Regions from separate parts of the Homo sapiens genome. Here region 2 is linked to region 1. Evidence: promoter capture Hi-C in 16 types of primary human blood cells and fetal thymus (Javierre and others, 2016). All regions are on one chromosome and are shown on one strand. The core of a region is centred on a gene start or on the middle of the fragment in contact, and the rest is flanking DNA. Distances in the headings are between cores, read along the strand shown. Region 1 holds the start of PKP4-AS1 (PKP4 antisense RNA 1). Region 2 overlaps GALNT5 (polypeptide N-acetylgalactosaminyltransferase 5).

The links. The method cuts DNA at HindIII sites, captures the fragments that hold promoters and counts their contacts. A CHiCAGO score of 5 or more calls a contact.
Region 2: a contact is called between a fragment that was not itself captured here and the fragment with the promoter of PKP4-AS1 in region 1, in 1 of 17 cell types (total B cells). The highest score is 6.1, in total B cells.

The regions. Positions count from the first base shown.
Region 1 is chr2:158,731,659-158,738,767 of GRCh38, reverse strand. It overlaps PKP4-AS1 (PKP4 antisense RNA 1), which reads left to right and starts at 3,766. Exons shown (of 4, transcript NR_135242.1): 1 at 3,766-4,040. The HindIII fragment of the contact is 4,247 bases long and covers 1,040-5,286 here.
Region 2 is chr2:157,302,081-157,305,379 of GRCh38, reverse strand. The region is part of intron 7 of GALNT5 (polypeptide N-acetylgalactosaminyltransferase 5); the gene reads right to left. Among named protein-coding and RNA genes, the nearest start is that of ERMN, 22 kb to the left of the region's middle. RefSeq lists a silencer at 2,691-2,770. The HindIII fragment of the contact is 2,838 bases long and covers 1-2,717 here.

The DNA of each region.
Region 1 (7,109 bases), core at 2,517-5,016:
GCCTTCAAAAAGGTAAGGCATGAAGAGGCAATCCAGGTATAAGACCTTGGGATGGCATCAGATTTGACTTCGAGGCTGGGAGGGGGTTCTGAGAAGTGGGGTTCTGAGAAGTGGCCTTCTGCTCCCGCAGGGCTGCAGTGGTCACAGTGATTGGGAGGGGTTCTGAGAAGTGACCTTCTACTCCCACAGAGCTGTGGTGATCACAGTGATTGGGAGGGGTTCTGAGAAGTGGCCTTCTGCCCCTGCATGGCTGCAGTGGTCACAGTGATTGGGAGGAGTTCTGAGAAGTGGCCTTCTGCTCCCGAAGGGCTGTGGTGGTCACAGTGATTGGGAGGAGTTCTGAGAAGTGACCTTCTGCTCCCAAAGGGCTGTGGCGGTCACAGTGATTAAGCGGTGCAGTGGCTTTTTCTTCCCTGTTCTTACAAAACTGGTTACCTCTTTAAATTCTTAGCTCCACTGAGCTCAGAATCCACCATTTTTTTCCTATTAATGTGGAGTAGAAACTTGTTATCTGGCTCAATATTAATCTGTTTCAAAATCAGCATCAGCACGTCTATTTTCCTAAGTGCTTAATAGAATGAACAACAACTGCCCCTGTCAACTCCCAGCCCAGCGTTCTTCCTACCAAACCAAGCAGCTTATTGCCCACACAGAGGCTGAGTTCATTGAAAAATATTTATTTTTTACCTTTCTGTTTTTACCCTTCTGGCATGGCCTGTGAATGAAACCGGGAGCTGGGGATTTTGTGAGTGTTTCGAGTCCATGTAGCTTCACGACGAACTGCAGGTCCTGCAGCAGGGAGGGCTGGGCAACCAGAGCTTCTCAAGCTGACTCATGCTCAGCTCCATTACTCTAGGATTCAGTTTCTCCAGTTATAAAAATTATGATAGAGATGGAAAGCAAATTAATTGAATGAAGGATGGTTTTCAAGGGCCCCCACTGCACTTGCACAAGCAACTTTCAAGAACTGCAAGCCATATATCTATAGTTTTATACTCTTTTTCTTAAAGAAAACCCCTAAATTATAAATACACAAGCTTCTGTAAAACCTGCTCTATCCCCAGAATGGCATCCAGCTAGTTCAGGGGCACTAAGGGTTCACATTTTGAGAGAAAGGCTAGAAACCATGCCTGCTCTTCTCTGCTTTTGCCAACTCCTTTCTTTTTCTTTTTTTTCTTTTTCTTTTTTTTTTTTTTTTTTGGCCAACACTAAAGAGTTGGAAATGTTGCTATCAACAGCAAACTAACACCAGATATTTATTAACATGATTCTATTGGAAAAGCCACAGAGCTTTGGGTTACAGTGATGTCTATTATTGATGAAGAGATGAGGAGCTTCCACTGTGAAAAATAAAACTAAGCTCATATAAAATTCAACTTGGCTAATTTGACTTGAAGGTTGCAAAGCTGGAGGAAGCCAGGAAGAGGGAAAAAAAGAACTAGGAAAGGCTATGCAGTCGAGAAAGTTTGGGAGACTGGTCTATAGGGCAGGAGGAAGTCATCCCCTTATCACTGGGCCCCTTTGCTCTATAGAGAAGACACTGCCCAGTACCTGTTGATGTTCTGTGTTGCAACTGAGAGCACAATACAGAAAAGACCCCTGTCTGTGCCGCAAGACTGCATGTTGTGGTATGAAGGGCTTCAATCATTCACCATTCATTCAACAGATGTTTTCGTTAGTGTTGCTAGATGCTGGAGACATTATGTCGAGCAAAACAGATGTGGCCCTGGTGTTCCAGTTTGGAGAAGACACAGCCAAGAAAAGAGGCCAGTGCAATTCAATGTGATGTGTGCTGCAATAGGGCAGATACAGCGTATTAGGGGAGCACAAAGAGAGGCATCTGATCCAGCTCTGGGGAGTCAGGAAAGACTTCTCCAGGAAAGCGGGGATCCATCTGAGACCTGCAAAATGAGCAGGCATTCACCAGAAGAAACGAGAAGCGTGTTTAAGGTAGAACAAAGAGGGAAGCAGTCAATGTTTCTGAAGCATCATGGACCAGGTGTGTGGTGGAGTCATGGGAGAAGGATAGAGTGGGCATTATTTAAGCAGATGCTGGCTCATATCGGCTTTGAAAACCTTAGGAAGGAGTGTAGACTTTATCTCAAAGGTAATAACTTTGTGATATCACCCAGATGTTGTGGGGGAGTGGTCTAGAGGGAAGCAAGGCTGGGGATAAAGAGGCTAGTTAGGAGGCTGTGACAATGGAGGCAAAATGTAATGGGGCCCTGGATGGAAGTTGCAAATGTGGATGGAGAGATGAATAAGGATTCAAAAAATATTTAAGAGGCACAATAGACATGCTTTGATAGTTGGTTAGAAATGCAGTGTAATGTGTCCAAGGAATCTAGGATGACCTCAGACACATTTGACTTGAGCAGTTGGGCAGCCAGATGGTAGAGCCATTTGGAAAGACAGTGACTCCAGAAGGAACAGGTTTAGCACTTGTGAACTGAATTGGCCATTAGGTTAAAAGGAGGCTTCAGAATTCACAGAAGGTCAAGTTGAAAGGCCCAAGAAAAACTGACTTATTAAAGTTACAGAGGTCAGGTCAGAGGAGGAAAAGACAGGAGGTTGAGAAGTTCAATCGAAAAGGCGTTCAGATGAGAAAAGGAGGCTACAAAACCATATGTACAATAAAATACACATGCACATGATAGAAACAAGGAAAAGATGCTAGAGAAATCCATATGAACACATTAGCAGGAATTATTGCCTCATAGTAAGATCACTGGTGATTTGTAATTCCTTCTCTTTGCTTAGCTGTATTTGCAAAACTAAAGGTTGCACAATAAATGTGTGTTCTTTTTGTAATAAAAACAAAAGGTGTTTTTGAAAAGTGGTTATGCAGGTGAGGGAAGAATACGGAAGAGCTTTTCTTTTTTTTTTTTTTTTCAGGCATAGTCTCGCTCTTTTGCCCAGGCTGGGGTGCAGTGGCACCATCTCGGCTCACTGCAACCTCTACCTCCTGGGTTCAAGTGATTCTCCTGCCTCAGCCTCCAGAGTAGCTGGGATTAGAGGCAGGCACCACCATGCAGGGTTAATTTTTGTATTTTTGGTAGAGATGGGGTTGCCATGTTGGTCAGGCTGGTCACTGGTCTTGAACTCCTGACCTCAGGTGGTCTGCCCACTCAGCCTCCCAAAGTGCTGGGACTACAGGCATGAGCCACCCCACCTGGTCTAATACTGAAGGGCTTTTAACTTAAAGTGAAAAACTTAATTGGAAAGGTTTATAAAAGTAAAGCTCGTGGACAACTAACCTGATGTACTGTCTCACAAACTTGGTTGCATATTGAAATCACCTGCACAGTTTCAAAAATACTGTTCCTGGATCCCACGTCCACAGCTTCTGATTTAATTGACAGGAGGTGTGGTCCGAGCCTGGAGATTTTTGTAATGCTCCCCAGGTGATTCCAATGTTGGCAAAGATGGAAAACCACTAATGCAGTTAATGAGAAGGAAGAGGGATAACTTTTTAGACTAGCATTCTGAGTTATTTAAAGGAGTGAGAATCTTGGGGGAGAAGGTTCTCAGTGAGGCCATAAAGCGGGGTCAAAGGTTGGCAGTGAGATGGCACCCCAGGGTCAGGCATGAGGTCCATCCCACAATATGCTCTTAAATGACAACCTAGTGAAGTGAGCTGAGCTCAACCTTAGAAGGACGCTCCAAGAAACTCTGCAAAAAATGGGGACATTTTGCGCATAAGGAAATCTGAGGTCCTGCCAGCTTTGCCGTGGTCAAGAGCACGTAGCAGCTGGTTCCATATTTAAAGGCAAGCGGCTCTCACATCCTAAGGTATTACCCAGCAAAAGGCAGCCTCAGGAGGCAGCCCACTGAAGACCTTCAAGTCCACGAAGACAATGTATGGATTGTTCACTAAAACTGAGGAATGATTTTCAAATAATCTGTCGCCAGAGGGCCAATCCAGGCTTCAGGCTCCAGTGTGTATGGAGGAGCTGCCACTGCAGAGACGCTGGCTTAGGGGGCTGGGGGATGCCTCCTTTGAATTCTGGGCCCACCACTGACAACACTTCTCTTCTTGGGTGAGTTATTTCATTTCACTGACCTCGCTCTCTTTATTTGTGAAAAAGAAGATAGTACTACCTGTTACACAGGTTTCTCAGGATTAAATGAGCTCAGGTTGAGCTCATTGTGAAAGCAGCTATTCGGTTTTTTAAAATGTGATTGCCATTGTTTGAAATAGCAAAAGAGGATATATCACTGTTAAAGTCTGTCTGGACGGCAGTCTTGCTGTATCATTTCCACCTCTTGCGTGACATTTTTTCCTTTCTTATTTAATTTTCTAAATTCTAAAGTACGGCGGCTAGAGCAGACAAACTGTTCTTTTCTTAGTAGATTAATGGCATTGAGTACATAGCCCTTAAAAACATAAAGTTTAAAAGCAAAAGCAATGGCCGGGCGTGGTGGCTCACGCCTGTAATCCCAGCACTTTGGGAGGCCAAGGCTGGCGGATCACTTGAGGTCAGGAGTTCGAGACCAGCCTGGCCAACATGGTGACCCTCCCCCCGCCCCGCCCCGCCCCACCCCACCCCATCTCTATTAAAAATACAAAAATTAGCTGGGCGTGGTGGCATGTGCCTGTAATTCCAGCTACTCAGGAGGCTGAGGCAGAAGAATTGCTTGAATCCAGCAGGCGGAGGTTACAGTGAGCCGAGATCACTCCACTGCACTCCAGCCTGGGTGATAAAGCGAGACTCTGTCTCAAGGAAAGGAAAAAAAAAAAGCAAAAGCAACAAACTCAAAATTTTGTTTTTTAAGTAAAATATCTTGATGTTAGTAATCACCAGAGTGAAGACAATGGTTACTGAAATTTCAACTCTAAGAGAAAAGGCAAAAGGCAATTATAGCAAAGTATGGGCAACTTCCATATATATTTCATTAAATCTGAGATGCCTTTTATTATAAGATATGTTCATTTTCTATATAGTTAAGGAAAAAAATAGTTGCAAATTAAACTATGACACAATGCTTTCTTTCCTGATACAATGTTTTCCATATTGAAAGAGCTCTTTCATATTTATTTAAACATCTCTTGTTACGTGTAGCACTCGACGTATCTAAAAAGGAAAACACAAGTGAAATGAATTGCTTAAGGTGTTCCACAAAACTTCACATTCTCACTCTTCTGAACCACTTTGCAGTCATCAATGCCACACATTTTTTCCAAACCACACAATTAACATCCTCTGGGCTTTCATGTGAACTGGCGATACACTCTCTTATGGTCTCCCGTATTTTTTCAGCCGCTGACATCTGTTTTTACAAGCTTTTTTGCCTAGTGTGTGATAGATGATCCTTTTGTGTATATCGTGGTAACAAACCTAACTCAGCTTTATCTACTTGTGGATATCTTCCCTTCATAAGCCCTATAAAGCTATGCTTCTCAAACTTCCCTGTTCATACAAATCACCTGGGGATCTTGCTAAACAGTAGATATACAACAGGTCTGGGCTAGAGCCTGAGATCCGGCAGTTCTCACAAGCTCCCAGCTGAGGCCAATGCTGCCGGCCCCAGCACTACAGTTTGAGCAGCAAAGCTATAAAGCAATTGATCCTATTGGTTGTTGCTTCTTTGCAAGAAAATATGGAAGTGTGATTATTCCTCCAACAAATGGTTTCACTAATATCAAATTTATGTCTTGCTGCTCTGTTTTCATGCTCTTCTGTATATGCAGTAATTTTTCATTTCAATGCCAAATTGTCACATAATCTTTTTGAAAGCTCTTAAATGGCAGTGAAACTCAACATGTGTAGTGCCAGCACAGCACATAATTCACTGAAGTGTGATGGCGGGGAGTGGAGCTAGGACCAAGCTAGTTGTAGCATACCACCGATTGCAAGCTGTACTCTGATATCAGAGATGCTAAAAAGTGGAGAAGGTGCAGTTTTGGATCAAAGAAATATGGAGAATCTGTTGCAAACCTCTGTACTTTTAGCTTCCACTTTTTTTTTTCCTTTTTAAGAAAATGCTGAAATCAGCATTAGGAATTATGAGAGACAACACTAATAACCCCAGTGTGTTTTGCTGTGTCTGTTTTTAACCTTTTGGCTTCACCTTTGTAACTGGAACACAAGGATGAAAGTTCCTTGGTGTGTGAGTGTTGGTGATATGTGCCTTTACAACTGACTCCACAGCGGTCAGTCACCTAAGAACTGACTTGTTGAAAATGCCCAACTCTGAGCTCCACCCAACCTGCTGAAGCAGCATCTCTGGGGGCTGATCCCAGGAAACCCTTTTACCAAGTCCCCCAGGGAAGTCTTAGGCCACTCAAGCTTGAGAACCACTGGTTTAGTGTCTTCGTGCCTTCTTGCAATATTTAGTCCATCAGTCTTCCAGTAGGGGACAACTATCGGGCATGTCCCAAACACTGTGCAGCTGCCAGAGGGAACACCGAGAGGCCTGGCGCAGCACCTGTCCCCACCTCATGGAGCCTATGCTCCAGATAGGTTGCCACAGAGAATACTGTGCTAGGGGCATTCAGAAGGGGCATGGAAGAGAGGAAGAAGATCCTCATATGGGTGTGATTGGAAAAGGCTTTGTGGAGAAGACTAGAAACGTGCTGGATCTTGAAAGATAGATGAAATTTGGTTGGGACAGGAGAGGAAAGGAGCATTTCAGGCAGGTGGTACAGCATAAGCCCAGGCAAGGAGGCAGGCGAGCACTAGTCACACACCATAGAGAGTCGACCAGGCATCTAAAGAGATGGTTCATGCACACAGGCAGAAAGTATATGCTTGAAAGTTAGATAAGAGTAAGGCAATGCCCCAGGAGGATTTACCCTCTAATAGCCGGTCCCTCCATGTGGAGTTTTTAATTCATTTCTTTTCTTCTCCTTCTCTCTTTCGAGCCTTTGGCTTCTCGTCAGTACCCCAGGCCATCCCTCTCCCTCCTCACCACCTCTGTCCGAACCCCTCTGCTGGCAGCTGGTGCATGAGGAGAAATGCAAGCTCATTGCAATATTAATCTGAGCAAAACACAACTAGAGAGGAAATTTTGCTGCTCTGTTGCAAATAGCATATGGTACCTCCCCAAAAGCCAAAAGAAATGATTTTTTAATCATCTGCTGTTCAGGATTATCCATGCTCCCTTTC
Region 2 (3,299 bases), core at 49-2,548, 1.4 Mb after region 1:
TTATGAGCTATGTTCCCTGACTGACCCCTTCAAGCCTTTTGACTGCTTAAGCACTGAATCATAGATAAATTGAGTCCTTCAAAGAACAGCAGATTCCAGCTGATTCCCTGTCAGAATCTTCTTAATGACCCAAGCAAGCTACAATTCATTATAGGAAAGTCACGAAAGCTAATACAGAGCCAAGCATAAAGGCACTTTCTGGCAGGCCCCCAGGTTTTTAATGGATTTACAGGGTCAAATATGGAGGTAGCTTTCTTTAAGTCACCATTTAATGCAGAAAAATGTTGATTTCCTTTCCCCCTTTGACATCCTGGGCAGGGCTAACAAGATGATGGGTTAACAGTGCAACTTAGGGTTTTCAGATTTCTCGAACAGCTGTGCAGAGCCGAATCTATAGGACATGTCCTGGGAAAGCCTCCTGAGCTGGGAGGAGCTGAAGTCTTTGTTGCCAGGGACACTATTTGTGTCCTTCCTGTTCTATGATGCCTAACAAAGAGCTCTAACTCAGGGTGCTGCACTGATGCAGACTGGATGCTCACAGAATTGCCAGACTTCATAAAAGGGGGCTCAGTACATTGGTCCTCAATTTTACATGCTTAGCTTAGTGAACAAGAAAGTAAGGGACATCTTCAGGGATCAGAATATGCGGAAAAAATTAAAGGCTACAGGGAAACTTGCAAAGGTTGGCAAGAAAGACTTGTTCCCTCATATGGATGGAAGAAAAACAGAGGTATGTGTAAACCAAAAATCTGGAATTCAGGTCTTCCACATAACAGCGGAAAAACAGATCTTCAGTTGAATGCTGCACTGGGAAAAACAATTTGCCCATTAGCAAAGGGAGAAAACAAGGAAGCTGGATTGTCCCTGAGAATCTGAAACTTTACACCAGGCTTCATTTGGATTTGAGATGAATATTTACACCACCTGCCTTGGATAGGAACCATCACAGACTTTCAAGGCATAGAAACAAACATTAAAAATAGTACCAGGTTGTTAATTACTTCTGAGGTGCCTGGCACAGGCAGAAACAAAGCAACTATGGAAGGATGGAATCTCTATCAAAAATCCTCAGAGAAAGCTCTATTAGCAATTTAAAATGACAAATATGGGAGGAGACAGCTCACTGTTAGTAAATGTGGGCATCACAAGGCACAGAAGGATTCAATGCCCCCACAGTCCCACCCCTGAACTTCAGAGAGGAAGGTGAATAGAAAGACATGAAGGTAGAATAATCTCGGGGCTTAAAGGAAGGAAAGCATGCTGCAATTGCTCTCTGTACTGAAGCAGAGATAAATATTATGTAAGCTCCTGTATTTGTGGATCATGCAGAAATATTCTATCTTCAAACAAATTTGGAAAATTCTGGTTTCCACAGAGCCGAACAGGTGGTTCTACTCCAGAACTTCTCAAAATCTTCAGGGTGTTAATGTTCAGCTTGCTGTCAGAATGTTGTACAAATGTTTCTCAAATGTGCTTGACCATGGAACCCTGAGACAGCACAAGTAACATTGGTCAGGACAGTGTTTGGGAACCCCCTGTTTAACTATTTGTGTCTATTTTGTATAATCCTTCCAAGAACCGAAAAGCATTGGAAGGAAAGATAAAACTTTTCTGTCCCTTACATGTCCCTCCCTCATTTGACCTGAAGATTTTTTTTTCCTTTTTCTTAGAAATTACTGAGGAAACTATTTAATTGAGGTTTTTGCCATGGAAGGTACTTTTACACCAACCTAATACTTTTCTTCATATAGACATCATCTCTGAAGTGTTTTGGAATTGTTATTCTTCATTTCATTATTAGTTGTTTTCAGAATTTTCCTTTTTATTTAAAAATAATTGATCCATGTTTTTACTGTAAACCATTTTAATCTTTAAAAAAAATAGGCAGTGTATGAATTTTAAATTATCCATGTTGTATTATTTCATTTTCCAATTTAGGAAGTAGACATTCCGCACAATTTATGACAGAATTGTTAAACATTAGGCTATTTGCCAGCGGTTTAATCCAGTGTAAAAATACATTATTGGTGAGATTCTTTCATTAGCTTCAAATGTTGTCGTTTCAATAAGAAAATATTTCTTCTTATTACAAAAAACCAAAACTTTCACTGGATTTAAATTTCTGCTTGTGGAGGTTGAAAAAAGGGAAACGGAGCTATAGACTGTTTGCCAGCAGTTTAATCCAGTGAAAAATACATTATTGGTGAGATTATTAGCTTCAAATATTGTTGGTTCGATAAGAAAATGTTTGTTCTTATTACAAAACACAAAACTTTCACTGGATCTAAATTCCGTAGTGGAGGTTGAAAGAAGGGAAACGAAGCAAGTAACAAAAAGAAGTTGTGGAGTTTATTTTCTTGGAACTTTCCACGATTGTCTATCTAAAATAATGATCTACTTAATTTGTTGTAAATTACCTGGAGAAAGGTCCTAATTTTTTAAAAATGTTAATAACGCTCCCTGCTGGTTTGCTTCAGAAGGGAGCAAACTACATCTTCACTGAAATTTGTTTAAGGAAGACAACAAAGGAAAATAGAAGGAATTTGTTAAAATCACTTTTTAAAATACTTGGTGCATTTTGATATAGTATAGCGGAGGCATCAGCAGAAGGCTGTTTCATTAGGAGAGCTCTCCAGAAATTTCATAGGAACTCACTCAGGTTAGCGCAACAGCGGAGCCCAAAGGTAGTTTTCTAGTGCCCTCTGGTGGTTAAAGCTTATTATTACTCTGACTGAGATTCTGCGTTGCTGGAATGGGAAATATTAGAATAGTGGAAATTCCTTTCTTTTTTTTTTTTCTGCTCAGCGGTTGAAATTAAAAATTGTAAATTTATTTTACAGTTATATTTGACATGTTGTTATTTGAACAGTGTATATAAATCCAAAATGTCTGATAAGTTACCAGGTTGAGCCACTTAAAGTAGCTGCCATTCTATTTGGACCCATAAAAATGGCAATTTTATAATACAGTGCGTTATCTAAAAACAGGTCACATAAACTTATTTATCAGTTGAATTTTGTAAAAAACAGAACCATTTTTTTAAGACTAGTTTCTTGTCTTTCATAGCTTTCCTGGATTTCCCGAATACTTTCAAGGGGGAATATTATAGTAAGTTTTTGCTATCAGGAGATTTTCCAGACAGAAAGCATGGTATAATCCACTCTCAAGAAGAACTGAAAAAATTTGGCCTAAAAGGGCGGGATAACTAATGGTCACATTTTTAAAGAATTTCTTGGATGAAGAAAAAGGAAGCTGAAATAAAACAAAAACACTGGGGTTAGTTATAAGTCAAATTAAAT